Linked DNA regions of Homo sapiens: all the other regions are linked to region 1. The links are contacts of gene promoters, found by promoter capture Hi-C in human tissues and cell types (Jung and others, 2019). All regions are on one chromosome and are shown on one strand. Each heading gives the region's core, a stretch centred on a gene start or on the middle of the fragment in contact. The rest is flanking DNA. Distances are from core to core; before and after follow the strand shown.

The links. Contacts are between HindIII fragments. The study calls those that stand out against the background at their distance.
Region 2: a contact is called between a fragment that was not itself captured here and the fragment with the promoter of HOXA5 in region 1, in 2 of the 25 tissues and cell types used here (bladder and lymphoblastoid cells).
Region 3: a fragment that was not itself captured here is called in contact with the fragment with the promoter of HOXA5 in region 1 in 1 of the 25 tissues and cell types used here (dorsolateral prefrontal cortex).
Region 4: a fragment that was not itself captured here is called in contact with the fragment with the promoter of HOXA5 in region 1 in 1 of the 25 tissues and cell types used here (spleen).
Region 5: a contact is called between a fragment that was not itself captured here and the fragment with the promoter of HOXA5 in region 1, in 1 of the 25 tissues and cell types used here (spleen).

What each region holds. Positions count from the first base shown.
Region 1 is chr7:27,140,121-27,144,949 of GRCh38, forward strand. It overlaps HOXA5 (homeobox A5), which reads right to left and starts at 3,561. Exons shown (of 2, transcript NM_019102.4): 1 at 2,926-3,561; 2 at 932-1,965. The coding sequence starts at 3,487. The coding sequence ends at 1,715. It overlaps HOXA3 (homeobox A3), which reads right to left. Exons shown (of 6, transcript NM_153631.3): 2 at 1-66. HOXA-AS3 (HOXA cluster antisense RNA 3) reads left to right here and starts at 244. Exons shown (of 3, transcript NR_038832.1): 1 at 244-419. The HindIII fragment of the contact is 16,485 bases long and covers 1-4,829 here.
Region 2 is chr7:27,917,736-27,922,564 of GRCh38, forward strand. The region is part of intron 2 of JAZF1 (JAZF zinc finger 1); the gene reads right to left. Among named protein-coding and RNA genes, the nearest start is that of TAX1BP1-AS1, 180 kb to the left of the region's middle. The HindIII fragment of the contact is 8,119 bases long and covers 1-4,829 here.
Region 3 is chr7:26,366,139-26,370,967 of GRCh38, forward strand. All of the region lies in intron 5 of SNX10 (sorting nexin 10), which reads left to right. Among named protein-coding and RNA genes, the nearest start is that of LINC02981, 30 kb to the right of the region's middle. The HindIII fragment of the contact is 8,434 bases long and covers 1-4,829 here.
Region 4 is chr7:26,415,601-26,420,429 of GRCh38, forward strand. All of the region lies in intron 1 of LINC02981 (long intergenic non-protein coding RNA 2981), which reads left to right. Among named protein-coding and RNA genes, the nearest start is that of SNX10-AS1, 19 kb to the left of the region's middle. RefSeq lists an enhancer at 177-732. The HindIII fragment of the contact is 3,319 bases long and covers 461-3,779 here.
Region 5 is chr7:26,486,201-26,491,029 of GRCh38, forward strand. All of the region lies in intron 1 of LINC02981 (long intergenic non-protein coding RNA 2981), which reads left to right. Among named protein-coding and RNA genes, the nearest start is that of KIAA0087, 50 kb to the right of the region's middle. The HindIII fragment of the contact is 4,346 bases long and covers 275-4,620 here.

The DNA.
Region 1 (4,829 bases), core at 2,311-4,810:
AACTTGTGGTTTGGACACTTCTGGACCTAAAATTGACAGTTTGAATGGCCAGGCGGCACACGTAGCCTGCAAAAGAGTCAAATGGAGTCCAGCGTTAGTGAGATTATATGTTATGTGGTATATAATGTTGGATGTCAACTCCCCAAAACCATAAAACTTACTTTAATGGCCCCACGTGACGTTTTATAGCCAGTGAGCCGATCTGTCTGTGCTATGGATGATTTTACGATCTAATTCATAGACAAAACCCTATTCATTTGGCACCCAAATGTCATATAGCCGGAACTGGGGCTTATAAAGTTTACTGTTTTATAACTTTTAAAAGGAAAGACGGCATCAGTGTAAGCAGTCGGTAAATGTGCAAATCTCTAGTTGCGCTTTAGCTGCTCTGAGGAGTTTCCCAATCGAGCTAGGATGGGGTAAGTACCTTCAATTTGTAGCAAATTAATTGTAGCAAAAGAAGCCAACTGGGTCCCGGGTGAAGAGTGGGGAAGGGGTGCTGGGATGGGTTAAGGGCAGAGGGTTTGGGGTCCACAGACAGACATAGCAGCGTCTTCAGCAAGTGGAGGCCTAGGACAGCCTTAGGAAAGAGGCAGGATCTGTGTGGCCTGAGGGCGGCTAACAAAGCCCTGGGTTTTTTCTCCTTTTTTCTTGCTCTTTCTCTCTTTTTTGTACCCAGCAAGTTAACTTGGTTTCCTCAGAGATGGACAGGGTGTTCTGGGGCTTTGGAACAGCCTACAGCTTTTTCCACCTTCTGCCCTGAACTTTGCAATGGGTCAGAGGTAGGGAAGCGATGGGACAGTGTTGGTATGAGGTCTCCCTGCACAGGTCATCTGCTCAGGTAGCCTCAGACCCAACAGCTTCCAAGACTGCACAGACAGACAGAAAAGCAGACAGAGCCGCTCACTATTTGGCACAAACCAGACCAAGAGAACTTACAATAGAAAGTTTATTTTTTGTTCCAGTCAGTATTTTTTCCTTAAAAACAAATACAAAAAAAAAAAAAAAAAAAAAAAAGCTGATCACAGTTTGCTTAAAACAGCCAGACTTGGACAATATTTGTAACTTTGTTCACAAAAACATACATCACTGAAGCTGCGCTTATAAGAGCCACTTCCAGAGTTCGTGCAAAGGGTCCTATAAAGGCACGCAGGGACACACCGCTTGGAGTCACAGTTTTCATCACAGAGTCACTAGTCACTACACGTCGAACAAGTTGTGTCTCATCAAGTCACCTCTACAACAGCATTAATTACACAAGGAATATAGGTAGTTTGAATAAAAATATCTTTAACAGCTTGGAGCTATTGAGACAGGAACACTTCCACGCACATGCACAGTTAAACAACTTGAGTGCAACACACAACATTGGCACTAAACGAGATTGAAGGGGGACTTTTTGTGTGTTTTTTTTTCTCTTTTCTTTTTTTGTTATAGTTACTTCAAGTAACACAGCTTGCTTCATATAAATAAGTTAAAACATCTATTTTTTTTCAAGACAAAGCCATTCAGGACAAAGAGATGAACAGAAAGCAGATCTACTTATACAGGCGCTATAATGGCAATAAACAGGCTCATGATTAAAAGATGAATTAGGGCAACGAGAACAGGGCTTCTTCACAGAAGGAACACAAGGGAGTTTCAGAAAGTCACCTTAGTACTGACACTACGCGGGATCCGCTAATACTGCTCAGTACTTTAAACGCTCAGATACTCAGGGACGGAAGGCCCCTCCTGCCGCGGCCATGCTCATGCTTTTCAGCTTATTATCTTTTTTCCACTTCATTCTCCGGTTTTGGAACCAGATTTTAATTTGTCTCTCGGAGAGGCAAAGAGCATGTGCTATTTCAATCCTCCTTCTGCGGGTCAGGTAACGGTTGAAGTGGAACTCCTTCTCCAGCTCCAGGGTCTGGTAGCGCGTGTAGGCCGTCCGGGCCCTTTTGCCTTCCGGGCCGCCTATGTTGTCTGCAATAGAAAAGTCAGCGGTTTAGCCACCAACTCCTGTCTTCCAAAGTCCGCCAGGGGGACAAGCTTGGGTCATGAGCAGGGAACCCAGGCGAAAAGCTCAACAAGTTCTGCCTACCAGCCCGCACACCCCTCCCGAATTTCCTTCTCTCTTCCTTTCTAGAAAGAAAACAATACGATTTGGACCCTGGGAACAATCTGCCCATCTGAGGCTGGGGCCGTGTCCCGGCGGACTCCGGCTTTCCCTGGCCCCTCTCCTGCCCCCTCCGCCCTGCCCCGGGCGCCCCGATCGGGAGGCACAGCCCTCCCAGGCTGCCCACCGCACAGAAACCCAGGAAGCAAGGCCCTTTCCTGAGCGCCCAAGTGGCCTTCGGGTCACCCTCCCTCAAAGTTCCAGCCCCGAGAGCCGCCTCCCGTTTCCAGCCTGCAGGGTTGGGGAGCCTGTTTTCTTTTTCTTCCCTTTCCTTCTCTCTCCCTCCTGCCCCCAAAATTCAGAATCCTGCAGGCTCTCGCCTCGATTCTTTCCCCCAAGCCCCTTTTCGGGGGCTGTAATTAGTAACGCTGTTTCCCCAGCGTAGCCCTCCTCATAAATTATCCGCCGTGACAAGCCCGATTCACGGCTGCTACAGCCATCCTCTACCTCTCTGCGCCTTGCTCGGCTGGCCTGACCCGGGAGCGCGTCCCAAGGCGTGGGGTTCCAGAGGGGTTTTTTGCTTCCTCCCCCTTCCAACGTCTAAACTGTCCCAGAGAACGCCCATTTCCCCCACTATTTGTGAGCGCAGGGTGCTCGCAAAGAAGAGGAGGAAGGAGGAAGGCAGGGGAGGGAGAACGGCAAGGAGAGCTCCGCAGGGCTGGGAGAAATGAGACCAAGAGAGACTGGGAGAGGGCGGCAGAGAAGAGAGGGGGGACCGAGAGCCGCGTCCCCGCGGTCGCGTGGATTTAGAAAAAGGCTGGCTTTACCATGACTTATGTGCAGCTTGCGCATCCAGGGGTAGATCTGGGGTTGGGCGGGCGGCGCCGGGCTCGGCTCGCTCTGCGCACTCGCCTGCTCGCTGCTGGCAGGGGCGTCCTCCTCGGCTCCGGACGCCGTGCCAACCCCCTCTCTGCTGCTGATGTGGGTGCTGCCGGCGTCGGCCGAGGCGCCGCTGGAGTTGCTTAGGGAGTTTTTCCCGCCGTGGTGGCTGTCGCTGCCGGGCGAGGGGGCCACGGCGGAGCAGGGCAGCGGATCGGGCTGAGGAGAGTGCGTGGACGTGGCCGGCTGGCTGTACCTGGGCTCGGCGGGCGCCGCGCTGGCGCTGGCAGCGTAGCTGCGGGCGCGCTCTCCGGAGCCAAAGTGGCCGGAGCCCGAGCGGCCGACGCTGAGATCCATGCCATTGTAGCCGTAGCCGTACCTGCCGGAGTGCATGCTCGCCGAGTCCCTGAATTGCTCGCTCACGGAACTATGATCTCCATAATTATGCAACTGGTAGTCCGGGCCATTTGGATAGCGACCGCAAAATGAGTTTACAAAATAAGAGCTCATTTGTTTTTTGATATGTGTGCTTGATTTGTGGCTCGCGGTCGTTTGTGCGTCTATAGCACCCTTGCACAATTTATGATGAATTATGGAAATGACTGGGACATGTACTTGGTTCCCTCCTACGTAGGCACCCAAATATGGGGTACGACTTCGAATCACGTGCTTTTGTTGTCCAGTCGTAAATCCTGCCTGATGACCTCTAGAGGTAAACTCGTGCACTAATAGGGGAGTTGGGTGGAGGCGAGGGGGGTGGCGCGCGCGCCCCGGGCGCGTGCCCGCCGCCAGTTGCCGCCGTTCAGCCGGACTCGAGCGCCACCCGCTGGAGGCAGGGCTCATCGCCCAGCTTCCGACCGGGGGCTGCAAGGGCCGGGGTCGAATTGAGGTTACAGCCCATTATGGCAAAATTATTGCATTTCCCTCGCAGTTCCATTAGGATGTACCAATTGTTAGGCCGTCAGCTGCCGATCGCGCGCCCGGCGAGGATGCAGAGGATTGGGGGGAGGTGGTGACTTGCATTTTATTTACAACAACTTTATTTCCCCCGTTTTGCAGCCCCTCTTATTTTTGTGTCGAGGTTGGGGTCGGTACTGACCGTCCTGCCAGCAGCTCTGAATTTTGAAAATACAGATATCACCTTCGGGGAAGGGGGAAAGCCATTTAGCCAATTGGAGAAATAAATCCTGCCCGCAGCAGCAGCAGCTACAATTACGGCTCTGTTTTTGCGAGCGCATGAGGGACAGTGTCCCTGCCGCTCTTAAATGACAGGCGTCTATTAAAGATAGCTTTTGTGTAGTGTTTCTCCAAGGCGAGGTCAAATTCCATACACTTTTATAACCGTAGTCGATTTTTCTTTCGTGTGAATATGGTTTTCGTGTCATTAGTTTGCGATTTGATTTGCTTACGTATCCAGCCTGGAAAATCTTCATCACAGGGTCCGGTTCCTCGAGCCAGCCGGGCCCCAAGTCGGAGGGTTCTCCTTGAACCCAGCGAGTGGGCCCAGGCTCCCTGCAGCCACAGAGGCTGCCTGGGGTCTGGGGATCCGTGGGGCGGGTTACTGGGGTCTTGCTTAGACCTCCAGGAGTAAAATGAGGGCGATAATGGAAGCATTCCTTGGCAGTGCCTAGTATCTCTGTAGTTATTTTCCACGGCTCCGAAAGACTCAAGTAAATCACAAATATAGCTGAGAGGCAAGTGGAGTCTCCCCGCTGGAGGCCCGGCGTTGCAGGCGCCCCTGGCACGTCTGGAAGCCAGGACTCTGGCGGCTCCCATGGCCCTGGGCCCCTCGTTGGGTCCTGAACGCTGCTGTGGCGGCGACGCGGGCGCTATCGGAGGCTGGGAGCGGGAA
Region 2 (4,829 bases), core at 1,711-4,210, 780 kb after region 1:
TATTCAGAAGCCAAGCAAGCTATTTTAAGATCCCTGGAAGGTAAGCTGGAGATTTTCATGCTATGACAAGTTTGCATAGACCGTTTTATTTACTCTAAGCATTGTATTCTGGCTAAAGATTACACAGAAAGATGTGGCAGTCACTGATGCTCTTTCCCACATATTTCTGACTCTCCACTTTTGGGCCACATGATGGTACTGCACTTCTTTGTTCCCCTTGAGGTTACATACGGGCAGATGACTTGATTTAGAGAATGCACAAGCGATGATGAACTACAGTGGCACTTCCTGCTATAGTGATTACAGAATGTGGGTTGAGATAAAGCTTCTATCAGACTAGGTTCCTGAGTGAAGGAGCAGGGCCTCTCTAATGAACCATGGTGGACACGCAGAGTAAGCAAAAAATAAACTCCTGTTGTGTTAAGTCACTGAAATTTGGGGATTTGTTACTGCAGTATAATCAAACCCATCCTAATACAAAGGATGTAAAACTTTTATACTGCACTTTAATTATTCGTTTTTTTCCTTTAAGCTCAAATGCCCCTTTAAAAAAAATCCTGATTACCCTTCAAGCTCTGGCTTGAGTTACATCTTCATCATCACTCCAGCCAACATTTATCTCTTTGTGTGAACAACAATTGCAACTCTAAGAAAAATCACGAGGTTTAGCACTTATTTTATAATTGCCCATATATATTAGTATCACCTCACTGACTATATCAGAGACTTAGGAGGGCAGAGTTCATGTTGTAGGCATCTTTGTACCATCTTGAGCAAAGGAGGAAAATGAGTAGTTTTTAGATAAAATCTAGCTGGAGAATGGATGTCAATATTTTCTAGTATTTCAACTTTTCCATGTGTTATTTGCACACAGTCAGGCAGTTATTGAGCACATATTGCTGCAGAGTTATACAGAAAATTTGAGAGCAGAGTTGCAAGTAGCCACGTGCTTGCTTCATTAACTGTGCTTGTGGCAATTTTTACCACCTGTGCAAATTTCCATTTCTCTGAACAATCTGACTATACATGTCCTGTTCACTCCCTCTTTCCAAAATGAATTAAGGAGAAGAGAAAACAGTGGTGATAAGAGAAAAAAAAAATCAGCTAGTGAGATTTAAAACAAAATTTGGTGAGCTTATACTAAATTGCTGCTTAAATATGGGAAATGACATTGATTGTTGAAAAGAAATACAGCCTAAGTTTCATTAACACCAATAACCTAAACATGGGACTTTGTGATGTTATCTGGCCTAGTCCTTTGTCTTCAGATTTGTGCTTTCAAGCATGCAAAGTATCATGGTTCTTAAAAGTTAAGAGGCTGACTGAAGGTCCCTTGCTTACTAAGTGATGAAGGTAGCACTGAAACACAGGTCCTAGTAATGGGCAACTTTAAATACTCAACACCTGTGGGTAGACTATCTTGTTAGCATGAAATGTAAAATTATATTTTGAAGAATTACAATTTTTGAGCTCTTAGGAGAGGAAATGCTCAACATAGGTGTGTAGACTATCTCATTAGCATGAAATGTAAAATGATATTTTGAAGAATTATGATTTTTGAGCTCTTAGGAGAGAAAAATATTTTGAACCTGGCCCCCCATTGTGAATAGAAACTAAAATGGGAAAATTTGGAGAAATAAACCAATAAGGAATAAAGATCATAAGTCATTCATGCTAAAACCTGTGATGAGAGTTAAAGAAAAGTCATTTAATTTTTCAAAGGTAAACGGAAAATGCAAGCATGTCTACAATGCCTTAAAGCTCAGTAGCTGCTTATCTTGTCAAAAATGTAACTATCAGAGCTGGATAACACAGAACAAGCATGAGGATGCATTTTACGATGATAAGGTAGCAACAGGAAATAACATATTTATAATCAATACAATAGTGCCAAATTTGCTTGGGTGAAGTCATACAAAAGAGGGGTGACTTATGGTTACAAAAGGAAGGAGCAAGCTCAGTTTTGTGCTATTTGACTACAGGAGTGCTCTGGAACGCCAAGGAAGATTGGACCAGCAGTCCAATTCTACCCACACCATTTATTAAATAATTAATACGTAATCATTTCAAAAAGTACTAGCTGGGAACTGGCTCTAAATCTAAATATCACTAATGACAATGTATGTAGAGGCAAATTCAATCCTGGTTTCCAAACAACTTTACAATCAACAACTTGTGGAGTTTACTCTGTGTGCAAGTTGTATTACTGCTTGCACCTTGGAATCCTCCTTCATTGCTACCCTTAGAATCCAAGCTAAAGGGACTCTCTTACAGGAGTGAATGCCTTAAGGGAAGTGCCTTTGGTGTTTGAGGAACCAAAAGCTCCTGGCCCTGACCCAAAACTAATCCACATTATTGTAAGGTACATCCAATATTAAAGGCACTATGGTGATGTTTTAGTACAGTGAGTCCTTAGCGTTCCTTAAAACTTCAGCTTCATTTGGCAACTGATGCCTCTTGGGGAGCAAAATTACTTACATCATTAAAACTTCATCAAGTCATAATTTTATTATAATTGTTAACATAAATAACTGCAGTAAATAAGTACAGAGTGATCGATTTGTTCTTGATATCTCAAGGGAGTCTTTATTTAGCTTTGATATATAAAATCAGGACATTATTTATTTGCATTACAAACTGCATATCAACTATTCACTTGGGCATGTTTTAATTGGTTTTAGGTTTTGCACATTCCATAACTGAACTGTGTAAGCAGGTTGGCTTCAAAAATAAGGTCTCATGTAACAGCTAAGTCTATATGACGATGTGTCATATGGCGTGTCAAACATTTTTCTGCTTTCCTCTGCTTCCCATCCTGACATCAGAAAAAACTTTGTTCTAGTGAAATAGAAAATAAATTCTGCTAAGATGGGATAAAAGGGGAGCATGTGAATAAGACCCTCTTCTTTCCTGGCCAGCAGCAAGTGCCTCCAGCTGTCTGATCTGCCTCAGTAGCCCAGCACAAATTTTTTAGTTGACTAATGCTCCCCACTTCCGCCGACAACAGAGTAAGATATCACCTGCTAAGATAAATTACCATAATATAATGATTGAAGGGAAAATATATGGTGTAATAGAGAGGTCTAAATACCCGTAAGTGGAAAAAAGCATAAACGACCATTTTAATTAATTTCCTAATGTAAAACACAGCTGTAGTAATGTTGGCAAGTCTCACCTGCCCGTTTTAAATTTGTGACATGAAATCATGCCACTTAATTAAGTCTTAATGCACAAAAATATATTTTATTTACTTTTTATGGAATACCAGCATTTAAAGCTTTCTATTTATGTGTGTAAGCGCTTTATAAATTACTTGAAATACTGAAAAAATCTGACTACTACTAACCGGCAGTTACAAGTACCAGTTTTAGTTTCAATAATTAAATGCCTTTTTGGTGGACTCCTGCTGCTATGTGAACTAGCTGTAGGCTATTAAAGTAATGAGTCCGGACAGAGTCATCTGATCTCATGGTTGGTGGAAAACTCAAGGAAAAGGGCTTTGCCCACAATTCCTAGTCTGTTTACCAGACTGCAACCAGACTGCCTGCTGGAAGCATTATAAAGCCTCTGGGCTTCCCCTTCCCCCTTCCAGCAAGTATCTTTTTTTTTTTTTTTCCTTTTTACAAGTGTTGTCTAGGAAAATATGGTATTATAGAGCCCTCTGCAGGCCAGAAGTTTTGTAGTGTAGCTTACCAGCATGATTTTTCTTAAAGTGGCAGTAAGAGAGGGGAAAAGCATAATTGTCAAAACTTCGTAAATCAGATCTCATTAAGAAATATGTTTGTCATAAGGGCAGACTGGCATCGATTCTTCCAGAAGACTCACTGAAAAAGAGCATCTCTGTTAACTTGTTTAAGGGATGTTGCCTTGATAGCAAAATTTTGGAGGGCCCCTGGTAACTTCATAATGGGTTGCAGTGTTAGGGATTATATCATCTTCATCATCATCGTAATTCTTAAAATAATCCATGAAAAATACAGGGCTCTGAACTGTTCACTTAAAAATGCAATTTCTGGCCAGGCATGGTGGCTCAAGCCTGCAATCCCAGTGCTTTGGGAGTCCGAGGTGGTAGGACTGCTCGAGACCAGGAGTTCAAGATCAGCCATGTAGTGAGATCCTGTCTCTACAAAAATAGAAAAGTATTTTTTTAAAAAAAGAATTTATATCACACCTGGGCTTTAGAAGCCTAGGTATAAGGAAGAAGAAATTAGAAGTCAGTTATACGAACTCTATGATTTCCTCAGCCAAGTTTTCATTCGAATGAATGAAGTGTATGCCTAGAAAAATTCAGTGAATTTCTTAAGTGTTTTAGGGAACTTAGTATAAATTTTTACAGGGCATTTTATATTGTGTTTTAAACTTTTTGGATGAAATGGATATAAATCATTACAGAAAGAAATACATAAAGATAAAAATGAGGAAGTGCATTGAAGACAAACAGAACAAATAAATAAGGTCTGATTTTCATTTAGATGGTACTTTTCGAACCACATTTTATGTTGGTTATAAAGTATTCTTTTTTTGTTGGAGACGGAGTCTCACTCAGTCGCCCAGGCTGGAGTGCAGTGGCACGATCTCAGCTCACTGCAACCTCTGCATCCCAGGTTCAAGCAATTCTCCTGCCTCAGCCTCCTGAGTAGCTGGACTGGACTACAGGCTCACACCACCATGTCTGGCTAATTTTTTGTATTTTAGTAGAGACGGGGTTTCACGGTGTTGCCCAGGCTGGTCTCGAACTCCTGAGCTCAGGCAATCCGCCCGCCTCGGCCTCCCAAAGTGCTAGGACTACAGGCATGACCCACCGCGCCAGGCCTTATAAAATATTCTTA
Region 3 (4,829 bases), core at 1,088-3,587, 780 kb before region 1:
TCCTGAACTGTTTCTTTTTCTAGTAGTTTCAGGATCTGAAGTCATCTCCTTTGGGGTTCACTAAATAGGACCTTAGAGCTAGCCTGAAATAAATATACTGCCTCCTCCCCATTTGGCTCTCTCATAAAGGGTTTGGATATTAAGTATGCACATTAATATTAATATTTATTTCTATTAGATTGACTTAGTGCCTTTTCTTTGAAGGTGTCCTAGAGGCATACAGAAAGATCCAAGATTATAAATTGAGGGAGAGTGGGCCAATGAAGAGAAGCCAGAGGAATAAACATGGCAAGAGACCAGAAGAACTGATTAGCAGAGCCAAGTCCTCCGAAAACATTTCATTGTATTTTTGGGGGGTATCACAGGCATGGCAGGACAGAGACCTGGCCAAGTTTTTCCTGCCCTTTCCCCTAGAGGAGGCCTCTGATTTTAATTGTTGTCTCTATGAGGCCCAGGTGGCTGATGGCCTCTCCCTTGAGATGTGGTCCCTGCCACACAATTCTACAGAATTGCCTGTCACTCTAGTGTAGGACATGTTGTCCTCGGGGAGCTGTGGCATCTTGTCTTCTGTAGGGAAGTCTTATTTCAGGTCAGAAGGCAGCACGTACCTCTGAATTATATTGCTGGTTAAGTGCAGGGTATGTGTTTTTGACCAGGAATTACTTCGTTGTTTTGAACACAACCTTTCTATCCACAGTTGATCTACCCAAATGAATGACCCTGTGAGTGTCATTCAGCCATAGTGGGGTTATGCTTGTGCCAGGTTATTTTTGCATAGTGCATGGTTTGACTGTTTGCTGGTTGTGTTTGATGCAGATGTCATAGTAGAAAGTGTCCTGGTTCAGGAACTCAAGGAGCCGGGTTCTAGGTCTCCCATAATCATGGTTCCTGGTTTTTTTTCTAGCTGCATGTGAGCCTTGGAACAGTCACTTCATTCCTTTTAAGCCTTTGTTTGCTATAGAGTGGGATAATAGTACCCACACATAGCCAACCTCACTGGGTGGTTGTGTCCTACAGATGAAAAGGACTTGAAAAAAACTCTAAAAACCATGCAGCGATCCTTCATTCAATAGATGTTTATTAAGTGAATGCTTTGGGCCAGGCTGCGTGCCACGGACATAGGACTGCACAGAATGAACAAGTCCTTGTCCTGACACTTCCTTCTAGGGGGAGCACTGTGTACACATCCAGGGCTACGGCTAGATTCATTAACACTGAATCTGGATTGTCATCCGATTGGATTGTCAAATCATGGAATTGGCAGGGGGTTCTCTTGTGATATCATTTGTTCCCCTGTGGTATGTGAACATTTGTCTACAAGTTAATATTTCACTTTAAAAATGAAAGCTGGTGCTTCCACACAGCCTAAACCTGAAGGAAGTGAGGAGTCAAATACCACAGGGCTGGCTTCAGGCCTGAACTGAGCTCTGCGGCCCCTGCTGACCCTCCCCAGCCTCCCTTCTGTGTCCCTCAGATCTGTGCTTGCCCGGGTTGTGTAAGGTAGTACCCTCCATGTCTTTGCCCCTGGTGCCCCCTCCCCTCACCCAACCAGGGTCCACTCTAGGGAACTGGATGTGATGTGTACCTTGGCACTGTGTCTTGGCCCCAGTTTGACATCCTCTGAGCCCCCACTGGTTACCTGTTAAGTAGGGCCAGCCATCAATAGCCTGTACCTTGTTTGTAGAGGAATTTTAGGAACCACAGCATTAAAACATGGAAACATGCTTGTATTGTAGGTTTTTCGCATGCATTTTTAAAGCCTGGTTTTCATGTGAGTTTTGAAGTTATGAACCAGAAGCACTAAATATGTTCAAACCTTTTGAAACCACAATGTCTTTGTATATGTGTATATATACCTATTTTTCTTTAAGGTCATTTGTGAAATGATACATATGTAATAAGAAAGTACTGATCTTTGTAGAGGAATTGGAAAATTGTTTCTTTGACTAGGTGCCAAATAAGAATAATTTCTACCATTTATCGAACACTTTCTACGTGTTTGGCATTTTACATGTTTTAGTCTCAGTACTAAAAATCTTAGGAGTTGGGTATTATCTCAGTTTTATAGATAAAGAAATTATAGGAAAGATGGACATACTATATGAATCCCAGAACCTGGCAAATTTAAAATTAGCAGTACTCTTAAATGCTGGCTAAATTTGGTATGATTGTGAGATTTTTCAAATATATTCATTTTTCTTCAGTCTTAACTATAATCTCCCTTTTGTATTCTTGCCCCTGAGTAATTATAAACTTAAAGTCCCTTCTAATAGTTATGAAAAGAAAGTTATAGGCTAAAAAATATAAACTCAGTAAGTCTCTAACTATGAAAAATGGAATTCCTACTAATTTTTAGGTTTGAATGGGATTTTCAATTTAGGTTTGAATAGATTTGTTCATGACTGGGAGCCGCTTCCCTTCTTTACTGAATTCATCCCATTAATACAACTACATTTACCCTACAGTTTAGACTTTAGTATCATGGTTTTGTATTTCTTCAAATATTAAGGAATATTAAAGATTTTTTACAAAAGGCTAGTGTTGAACCATGACAGCTAGTTTTACACACACACGATTTTTATGTCTTTGTGTTCAATAGAGGGCACCACAGCATAGATCATGAATGTCTTCAATGAAGATTTGTAGGTTTTATTTTTTCTTATAGTAAGAGCTAAACAGGCTGAGTTAATTTTTTTTTTCTACATCAAACTGCTAACCTTCCATGTACTATGCAGTTATGTATATATATCATTGTATTGGGTTCAGCAGACCCAGGACATCCTTAGTTAGGATGAAATGATTTTGCATAGCTATATATTCTCAGCTAAACCAGCATATAATACATCTAATAAAATCATGTTGAGGAAAACTGTGCTTTTCAACTGTGTCCAGTTTAGGGAAAAAAAACAGATTTTGCTTTGTTTAGTCTAAAACTGTTATGGGGAAAGGAATAACTTCTGATTTGCACTATAAATATCTTTCTAGAAATTCTTTTAAAATCCTAGAGGCTATTTTTTATTCCTTTTATAAAGGTTTGAAAATCATATACTTTTTAAATGGAGGTTTCTACAAATGACATTTTATTGACTGTTTTACAAAGTACTCTTTATATTAGGTTTGAAATTGATTTTGGGCTATTAGATTTGTTTGTGGAAAATATGGCACAAACATGACTAAGGAAAAAATAGTATTTAATATTATGATGGTGGCAGTCACAGCCCTCTCTGATAGTAAGCCAAATAGTACTCAAAATAAATTAATTATGCTCACCTAACCAGATGGGAAAACACTCTCAAAAATTTTCATTTTAAATTTCAGAATGAACTATCTGACTAAAATAAGCATATAAATACATTTAAAAATTATTTTTGCTTATTTAAAACTCATGGAGTATGGTGGCATGAATTTAGCCAGAGAAACAGAGGAGATTCCAAAAACCAAAACTGTACCTAGCCGACTCACTGGTTTGAACTCTAGGCCTGGGGGAGTGTTCAGATGTCCCCTCCCCAGCCACATCTTTCTGGCTCTTTGGAATTGTGAGCTGGGTGAGCCTGGCTCCTTCTCTTTTCATCTGTGTGTCCTCCAGATGGCAGTATTGAGCAGAAAAAGAAAACGCTGGGAAATAATGAGTCTAATGTACAGTAAAATTGGAAATTGAATTATAGCTCAAGAAAAAGGACAGTAGCCTTGAGGTCCCGATCAACCTGGACTCTGATCACTTTTGTTTGCTGTACCCATGTGTTAAGTTACTAGCAAGTTAATAACAACACGTGAGCAGTTCAAGGCTCAGTAGAATTGCTTCAGACATGAAATAAAGCTAAAATGAATTTGTGTCCAATATCATTGGCATTAGTGCTCATTACTGTTGTGGTGTAATGCCTCAAACCATCTAAAATCAATTTTAAAGATTACCCATTATTTTATAAAGAAAATAAAACACATTTCCAACAGAAACAAAGCCACGAGTACAATCCCATGAACAGTTCCTTGTACTTATGGCAGGCAGGAAACCGCTGACAGAGGCCACAGGAAACACTCTGCTCAGACTTCACAGACTTCACGATCCAAGTTCGTATTAATGGATTGTTGCTCTATAACTCTTCTCTTAATCTGAAGTATTTAAAAACAAGAATGGTGAATATTTGTAAATGTAGAAAATAAATCTCAAAGAGTAGTAAGAGGGATTTACTACTTAGCTACTTGTACTTGGTAAATTAATCATTATCATGTGACATGGTCATCTTTTGGGAGGACCCAGGGCGGAGGACACAGAGGGAAAAAGAAGGATTTAGCTGCTTTGCTTGAGGTTTTGCCTTTTAAAAAGCACAAAGGTTTTACTTTTCCTTCTAATAGACCAGTAAAGAATATTTTCTCAAACTGTAAACCTGCTGAAGCAAAGGGGACAGCTAGATTTTGGTTTTAATACTGTGCATTTTTAGGCATTTTTGCCTTTGTTAAGAAATAATTGTTTTATTTTGTAGAAAAGGATTTGGTATTATAATGACCTTGGATTTTCACTAAATTGATATTAATGGCCAAAAGAGATTTACTTTCCTTATTACTTGTTTAAACAAGCAGAATATAAGGTAAGGTTCATTTGGTCTGAAATACATGATCTATTTTTCACAGATCGTTATATCGGAAAAATCTTATGTTGGACAAAATTCTACTTGGGTTTTAGTGTGTTAGTTTTGTCCCCTGTATCTGGTCTTAGTGTCTCCTCTTACATAATTATTGAACTATCAGTAGAGACTAAATGATCATATGTCAACATCTTTGCTAAAAGATAAACCAGTTTTTATTTAAATATAAAGGTATACTTTGATTTG
Region 4 (4,829 bases), core at 870-3,369, 730 kb before region 1:
ATACACCCTTCCCAGCTGCCTGATTCAAGCCCAAATGTATTTAGAGTTGACAACTGGCTAATAAAAGGGGGTGCTTAAATGCAAGATGATGTAGCATAAGTTATATTTGCAGTGCTATAATAGCTTATGGATTAAGTTGGGGATTCAGACCCACCATAACAGTTGCAGAATAATCTCATTAATGCATCTCCTAATTCATTGCATGTACTAGTTCACTTGACCAGGCTAGTTGTTTACTCTGGTCTTTTTAAGGGAGAAATGGTTTACAAAGGAAACAGATAGTCCAAGTAGGAGTACAGGGAATGGGTTAAATGATTTTTAATATTCTGGCTTATCAAACCTCATGTGCGAAACATATCTATTTATTTAATCTAGCCCCTGGAACCTATCCTTGGCACACTTAATGGCCTGTGGTTGAAGGCACTACATGCATTTGGAATTAACCACACCAGTATAGTCTAAAATACTTTGAAATGCAAATTCCCTTAATTTGGCCATTACCCTTCCTGCAGTTAGTTTGAATTTCTGAGGTTTTCTTGAATCTCCAGAGCTCAGGGTACTTGGTAATCAGACCACAGGAAGCCTGTCCTTGTTTCTGGTGCTGCTACTATGACACTGTTGAGGTTCAGCTGTGGGCCCACATTTAGTGGAACCAGCATATGACACATCAGATGCCAAGCGTGAAGCCTGGGTAACCAGACTGCCTGTGTTCACACCCCAGCTTGGCCAGTGGTTATTTGTGTAAACCTTGGGTAAGATACTATCTCTCCATGCCTCAGTTTCCCATCTGTAAATGGGAATAATAGTAGTACCTACCTTATAGTGTTGTTGTGATAAGTACTTGAATTAGTATACATTAAGTTCCTGAAACAGTGGACAGTACCGTAATATAACATGGTTGGTATTTATTATATTATAAAAATGTTTACTATTTTAATAACATATCATATATATAAATTTGATATAAATAAATTGAATCATACATGTTATGATTCAAAGGAATTGTTTAGTCAATTATGATTAAGTGTGTGGCAAGTTGGCCGGGCACGGTGGCTCATGCCTTCAATCCCAGCACTTTGGGAGGCTGAGGCGGGTGGATCACAAGGATCGAGAGCATCCTGGCTAACACGGTGAAACCCTGTCTCTACTAAAAAATATAAAAAAATTAGCCGGGTGTGGTGGCGGGCGCCTGTAGTCCCAGCTACTCGGGAGGCTGAGGCAGGAGAATGGTGTGAGCCTGGGAGGCAGAGGTTGCAGTTAGCCAAGATCGCACCACTGCACTCTAGCCTGGGTGACAGTGTGAGACTCCATCTCAAGAAAACCCAAAAAAACCCAAAAAAGCCTGTGACAAGTCACTTTCTTTCCAGGTCCCTAGAAATGCAACATTTTTTTCAATGCCCAGGGAAGTTTTGCCCAGCTTGCCTCTAATACAGCAGCCATATTGTAGCAGAGGAATTGTTTTATGGGTTGCAACATTTAAATAAAAGCTTATTAATTAACTACTCAATTCCTTCTGAGGCAGTTTGCAATGGTTTTATTTCAATGTATACTGAAGGGCATTCTCACTTCTGCCTCCCACTGTGTTAAACATAACAGACATTGAATATACACTTATAGCATTGAACTAAGATAAAAATGTTTGTTTAGGCTTGAACTTAGTTGACTTAACTTCTATCATTTGTTTAGAAATTGTCATTTCTTTGCTTTAAGAGCTGGAAAAAATTGCACTAAATAGCAACCTATTTAGACATTTTAAAATACAATTCTTCTGCATGAATTATCCCCATAGAGGTCCGGTTGTGTCTGAGTTTGCTAATGAATCGAGTCACACTCTATTTGTGTTGATGGATTCCAGGCTTTAACACTCTAAGGCTGTTCTTCTAATGTAGGTGTGTGTCACATGTTGTGTTATTATCCACATAGTTCTGAGCAGTGTGAATCGTATGGATATTGGAGAGGTACTTTTTTTTATCTCCTATATTCAAGCTGGGAGTGAAGGGAAAGCAACTTACTTGCTGTCAGTTCCTGGAATTTTTTCTACCCATGCAAGTAGTAGGGCATTGTCTCAATTTATGTTCTACTATTGATGGAGCCCCTACACTGAACTTTCTGGGAAAAGCCAGGAGCTTACTCCTAGGAAGACATCAGGATGAAGGCTCATGACCAGCTTAACATGGCTCTCTGGCATTTCTATGAATCAATCCTTTTATTGACCCCAACCAGGGCGAATTTGAAAGCAGGATCCTTTCAAAGCCCTGGCCTCAAGTTATAGTGCACCCAATTTCTGACTTTATATTCCTATCTGTTGTAGACTTTCCATGCTTTCCTATAGTGCTTATCACAAAATCAGTTGTCCTTTGTGTTTCTTTTCCTGAGTATTTGCAGGAATGAGTCAGATCTTGCTTGTAATATATGGGGAGCCTAGAGGAAAATGGTGTTACTTTACGAGCCAGCCAACAATTCCTTTCAGGGAGGAGACTGCCTGCCACCTTAACGGAAGCATTTGGCTATGAAGATAAGGCCCTCAGGAGATAGCCTGGACAGTCTGGAGCTAGACTGAGAGAGAGCACACTACTCTGTGGAAGATGTTTACAGGAATTTGGGGGCGGGTGGAGAGCAGAGGAGAAATAAGAGAGGAGAGGGTTGAAGTGAGTGAGAAGGCAAGATGGCGGCAGACCCTGGGACCTAATGAGAGCCTTAAGCAGATGGAAAGACTGTGCTTCACGAGAACTGAGGGGTTTTCTGGGGGTGGAGGGATAAATCAAGTAAAAGGGGTTACATTCAAAATCTAGGTTGGCATGGGGCAGCTATGGGAGACGAGACACAAGTGAGGTCAAGAATCCAGCCAAAAGAAGCCACTGGAGATAGGGAAGTGACCATGAGAATATAAGCTGTCAGGAATTCTCAGACATCTAGGGGAAGACATTGGCCCTTCACAGGATGTGGGAAGGAGGCTTCAGCCAGTTTTTGTTTAAACCTCAAAGCAGAGAGTGATCTCAGCTGATAGCTGTATTATACATTTGTACCAGGAAAAAAAGTGTTTTTGAGTTAACACATTTTTGGAATACTGTTACAGAGATGAATGAAACCTTAAAGTAAATTTTATGACTTACATGTCTCATAAAAAGAAAGGCGTATCAGCAGCGTTTAAAAAAAGTTATTTTATAGGATTTTTTTATTCTAACGGATAGAGATTGTCTTTGGAGAATATAAATATTCTAAAGATTTAATGAAGTTATCTGAAGCCACATAGACATTAATTAGAGTTCTGTAATTAGAATTATAGTTATAGAAGCTTCTTGCTGCAAAATAGAGGGTAATATTTCAATATTTCAGGTTTACTGTGCTGTTGGAGCACAGTACCTGATGCATTTTCATATACCATGGCTTCAATAATTCTTTCTAAATAAGCATTTTGATAGATATTTAATAGTTTTAAAATTAATGTTGGGGTAAAACCCATTTTTATTTGTGCTCATCCCAGCCCTCCTTCTCTCACAAGCAGCCCGTCTGCTTTCTGCGCACAGAGCCACCCAAACCGATCATGACACTGAATCCAATCAGAAAAGCAGCATAAAGATGAAAGGTCTTACCAATGAGAAGTGAACTTGCTAAAGTACACCTTTCAATGAATTTGGACAAAACTGAAAAATGTTGTTGATATCAGATCCTTAGGCTGATTACTGAAGCGTTCGATTTTTCAGCATGTCAATTCATCACTGTCTACCTGGTTATATTTAACACTTTCTCCTGTTTCCAGCATGTCTGCTGAGACAGGCAATTGCTGTCACATGATATCTGCCTCTCAAGAAGGTCAGCAGACCATTGGGAGGCCGTGGTTTCTGTCCTCCAGCTGCCTTGATTCTTTCTCAGGTATTACTGACAGCAGATGGAGCCTCAATGTCTTGCAGGATCTAAAATATTAATAAGATTAGGGCTTTTATCCTTCAAACAGTTTAGCCTTTCCTTTTAGAGGCTCTGCACAATGTCTCATCTGTTAATTTATAATACTAGCTCTCCAGGAAGACCTGACACCACTTACGGATACCAAAATACCACTTTGCCCAGAGTCCCTCTTTTTCACTTCGTCAGTGTGCTGGTTCACGTTTTAAATCACGCTCATCTTTCAGAGACATTTGGAGGAGTTTAATTCCAGTTTGAGATGAGAGGTCTTGGGGTGCGTTTTAATAAATATTTGATGGGAATGCTAGCCTTGGGGGGTCATTCTTATTTACAAAATTAGAGATGGCATCTCTTAGGAAAGCTTAACTTCGTGGAAGAGGCGGTGTTTATAAATGCGCACAGCACTCTCATGCACGGGGTGGCCGCCACTTTTCAGAACACAGTAGTTATCCACGGTTCCATTTTTAGAAGCAGTGATTAAATTGCAGAGCACTGCTGTGTGATACCAATTACAATAACCATTGTCGATTCAATTGTCTTTTTTTTTAATGGAAAGCAAAATTCACTTTTCTGCATATAGCCTACAAAAATACATATATCATATGGTATGCAATTTAGATCATTTTAAAGGGCTGTAATGGCATTAGTTTAGATATCCCATTCCAGTCAGGCAATGAGCATCAATTTTGTTAATTAAGAATTTTAGGCTCTGTAAATTTATAGTACAATTACACTTTACTTCATATTGAAGAGGGTCTTTACCCCATGCCACCATTAGAAAAACGTCCACTTATATTATTTGCTGACGATTTCACAGGCAGATAAATTTCACAGGAAGCATTACCATTTCTTTTTTTGCATTGAAATTTCTTATTGAATGCCAATTGTCAGCAGAATGCAACCATGAAGACTTTTGAGTTAAATTT
Region 5 (4,829 bases), core at 1,198-3,697, 660 kb before region 1:
GAGCAAGTATAGGAGGTTTGGGCCCAGCGAACCAACAGGGTACATACAAGCATTTGATTTGGAATGACATGCTGCCGGTTTGTGAAGATACGGGCCGGCTCTCTTCTTGGCTGATTTATCTTTCAGCACCGCTTGTGCATCAGCCTGTCAGTCAGTGAGTGACACTGTCAGGTTTCTTGGTGTGCTGAGGACACTGCAGTGGGTGACTGGGCAAGTTGAGGAGATGCAGAGAAGCCCCTTGAGGCAAACTCAGCCCAGGGGATCTGAGCTGGGCGTGGAGATGAACAGAATTCCGGGTGCACCAAAAGTTGCCATTAAATGTCCTATTTACGTGAAAAGACAACTGCAGTGTGGCACCATGGCCCTGGGAGAACAGCAGCTTCTTTTTTTTTTTTTGGAGAAAGGTTCTCATTCTGTTACCCAGGCTCATTGCAACCTCTGCCTCCCGGGTTCAAGAGATTTTCCCACCTCAGCCTCCCCAGTAGCTGGGACTATAGGTGTGCGCCACCACACCTGACTGATTTTTGTATTTTTTGGTAGAGACGGGGTGTCATCATGTTGGCCAGGCTAGTCTCAAACTCCTGACCTCAGGTGATCACCTGCCTTGGCCTCCTAAAGTGCTGGGAGGGGCTTCTTAACCATCAACAGAAATGGGCTGGAGCCAGGCAGACCTGGGTTTCAGTCCCAATTTTGCCTTTCAGTAGGTGGTTGCCTGTGAGTTTGTGGCACATTACTTGATTTCTTTGATCTTTGATTCATCTAGGGAAAAAGAGAATAATCTGATCTACCTCTGCGGGTGCTGGTAAGGATTAAATAAGAAGATACATGCAGACCCAGCATGGTGCCGAGCACACTAAGCATTCAGCAAATGGTAACTATGGAAGCCCCGTCACTCCCACCCCTGTCTTACTACACAATGATGGTGGTCTCCTCTCTACCTGAGTCAGACCCATTTAAGGAAATGTGGAAGGAGAAATGCTCCAGGCTCCTCCCCGTTTCCCAAAAAGAACAAAATGAATGGAGACAAGCCGTGAACTTGGCTTTATCACTCTCTTGCATGGTCTGGCTTTAGGGGAAGAAAGAAGACCAGGGAGGAAATCTGCAGTGTGAGCCACTCTTCTCCCCCAGGGTTACTTCTCGGGCTTTTGCATGGGCAATTCTACCTGTAGGTAAAATTTCCATAGGCCCAGGAAACAAAGTAAGTCCAGCAAGTGCTTGGCTAACTGTTGGCAACCAAGGACTTCTGAGATTTTTGCTTATAAGGTTCACCCCAGTTCATGCTTTCAAATGCCCTTGTCTCTCTGCAAAGCCAGCTTCCTTCAAGATTTGTAACTTGGCTTTGGTCAAATAACTTTGAAATTGAATGCTGTATCTCAAGATTGATGGCCCAATAGGCATCAGGACCACATTTGTTTCCTGCCCAGGACTTTTTCAGGGGAGGAGGGATGAATGCGGAAAGGTAGAGCACAATATCAAGGTCCACGAGGGGTGTTCTGCTCCCTTGCCCTACCCCCACATACACACCAACACTACCTGCCTCTCAGCTTCTCTTGCAGCCAGCAGGCCTACTGATCCATCATTTATCACTGTGAGGTGCTGCCTAGAAATCAGGCCCTATGGTTTATTGATGTTGCCACTACTTGGAGGGTCCCGGGAGCCAGGCGCTAGTGGGTTTACTCTTGCAGTGGATGCTGTGGGGCTCTACCCAGATTCTCCTTCAGGACCAAAGCATCATTCCCTCGGCTACCAGGAGCACTGCCTGCTGGTGGCTTACAGTGGAAGCTCTTGGCCTTTGGCCAAAGAGGGCTGCCTTGCTCAAGGATATGACCTCTCCTGGGGGTATCTTGCATTCAATGACTGGCCACTGTGGGGGATACAAAGGCTGGACCCCCTTGCCTCAGTTGGGCCAGTTCTAGGGGCCATCCCAACCCCTGTGTGGCCAGCTGAGGCCTCTGCTGTGACTGCAGCCCAGTTCAGCCTCTCCTGCAGCCCAAGGCTGCTGCCCGCATTCACTCACAGGTGTGGTTCCTATTGGACAACTCTCCAATAGGCCCCCTGGACACAATCTTATTTCAGAGTCTGCTTCCTGGAAAATCTGACATGCCACAATGCTCCCAAAGTCCCTTGGGTGGAGGATTTCATAATGAACAGCCAGGGAGGAAAGACTTTCAGAATGTAAGAGAGAACAATGCGTGACAACCACACCACTGATGTAAATTCAATCTCCAGTCTCCATGACCAGTTCCCCCTCCTGCTCTCCTGGGTGGGTTGGGGGAAGAAGGTAGCTATAGATGTGGTTACAATAAGGTATAGGCTAATGAAATGGTTGAGCCATATTTTTTTTTTCTAGAGTGTCATCACAATCTGAAAATACCATTATCTGTCTGACCCTGAAGGCTTTAATCCATTCTTGGGCAAATTTCTGTGTTTTGGGGGAAATCTAAAAATGAGCCTGTGGAGAGGCATGAGGACTGGTTTATGAGTAGGAGTGGTTAGTCGATCACCTGTTGTATGTGCTTTGAATTAAATGATATAATTCTCTTGCATTATATCCAAAATTCCAATAAAGATCTGATATTTGAGTTTTGAAAAATTCGTCTGTTATCCATATGCAAAAATGATAAGGTGATAGTTTAATACCTTATCAATGACTGGTTGTGGGCTAGCTTAGAGCAAGGGAATGCTTAGAGGGGAGCGGGGATGTGGGTGTGCGGGAGCAGGGGGTTTGTAGGATGAGGTGGCGGGGACAAAGACAAACAACACCTGTTTTTAATTTCTTAGCTGAATACTGTGATGGTATGAGCTCAAACAATGTTTCCCAAAATGCAGTGCCCATATCCCTGGTGAAACCAAAGGGGATAGTAAATGCTACACAAAAAAATTACTGTTTTCATCGTTGTGAATTTGTTACAGTTACCTTCTATTATGGCAAATGTTTTTGGTCTTCTATGTATAGGTAGTGATAAAAAGGTTTCTTTTAAAATAAATTTATTTAAATACAAAATAATTGCTTAAATTAAATATATAGTAGTACAAGTGGCCTTCAGTTAAAAAAATCACAATGGTGGTATGTGAATGATGAAAGTGTGGTTATAAAATCTATTGGCTCCAGAATCAGAGCAGAGAGTTTGCTATCTAGCACATTGTGGAAACTTAGCAAATAGTATATAAAATGCCAAATAACACCATCTAGGCTGCATGTCAAATTGTTAAAACTGCTAACATTTTTGCTGTTTTTGTTGTGTTCCTAACTAAGCTAGTTTTTCCCTCTGCTAAATATTGAGCAGAATTGTTTGAGGACTTTGAGTGTCTAGCATGTTTGCACGGTTGATGAGATTTTGTTACTTATCATGTCCATGTCCATATATTATTGCCCATGAATTACACACCCAACATGTATCAGATATCACTAAAGCCCATTAATGAAACATAAAAAGCTAGAGAATTTAAAGGGAATTGGGGCAGCAGGGGGCTGGAAATCTTCTAGTCTGGAAGATTTCCAGACTAAATATAGAAGCACTTTAAGAACCTTGAGACAACTAGTGGTTTCAAACTTTTTCAGTCACAGAACATTCTGTTCAAATAGTAATAGATCTTACTAAGAAGCCCCTGAGTGCCATGGAGAAAATGATGAAGAACTGCTTGGTTGGAGAGGTGGGGCAGGGGGGTGCTGAGAACAGGAGAGTCCCGCAGGTGATACACAAATGAAGTGTCCCTTCCTCTTTCTGCCAGTGCCCACATCCCACCCAGTTCCAGCCCACCCCTGAGGCTCTTGGGGTGTGGCACACTGTTTGAAAACCTAACCTGAAACAGTTTTCCTTCTTATTCCCTCTGCAACTGTCATTTTGTGTCTGCGGTGTGGTCAATGGGCTTTTATTTTATGGTATGACACAGTGACCGCATACTATCTCTCAGAGCACGACAGATGTGTCTTGCCCAAGGGCGCATATATATATATATATGTATGTGTGTGTATTGAGGGGAAAAACAAACAAATGACCTAGACTATAAGCTCTGTCAGGGCCTGGAGTTTCTGGCTTGTTCATCATTGTGTAGCCCTGGCACTTAGAAAGTCTCCTGGTTCACACTGAATGAACAAACAAAAGAATGAGTAGAAAAGATAAGTTAGTCATCGATAAATTTTGAAAAATGGAATTAATGGGTCAAAAGGTGTGCACATTTTCAAATCTTTTAGTGAATGAGTTTCTTATGAAGACCAGCTGGGGCAGTGGGAGAGGCCATAGTAATCTAAATGTGGTGAGCCCTGCAGGGGATAGTGCCTGGGGTGAGGCAGTAGCGAATGACACAGAAAAGAAAATGCAAATTTGAGATGCTCAGAGAAGAAAGTAAGAATACTAGTGATGGGTGGGTTTGGGAACCTGCGAGACTTGAGCCAAAAGCACTTTTGGTTTGGATCACAAAGATGCTGTGTGAAGGATTGGAAATACCATGGTAATCCTTCACAAAGCCAGTCAGAAGCTTAGCTCAGGGCAGAAGCCAAGTGTTGGCTTAAAAGACATAACTCAGCAGCCTGTGAGGCAGCTCTGGGTGCACCATGCCATGGAGGAGCAAGCAGGAATGGCTGCATGCCCAACAGCTGCCCTGCTGAGTCTGCCGAATCTGAGCCTCAGTCACTGGGCTGGGACGAGTGTGCTCCTGTCATACATGTACAAAGTGTCCCCACCTCTCCTGAGGCTCCTCCCTTCTCCACCTCTCTGAGCCATCCCGCAAGGCATTGGGTGTTTTCCACCTATTCCCTAAGCTTTTCCAGAAAGCCTAGCCCTTGGAGAGCCTCTCTAGTCCCTGAGCACTCCTAGTCCTCATGGCCT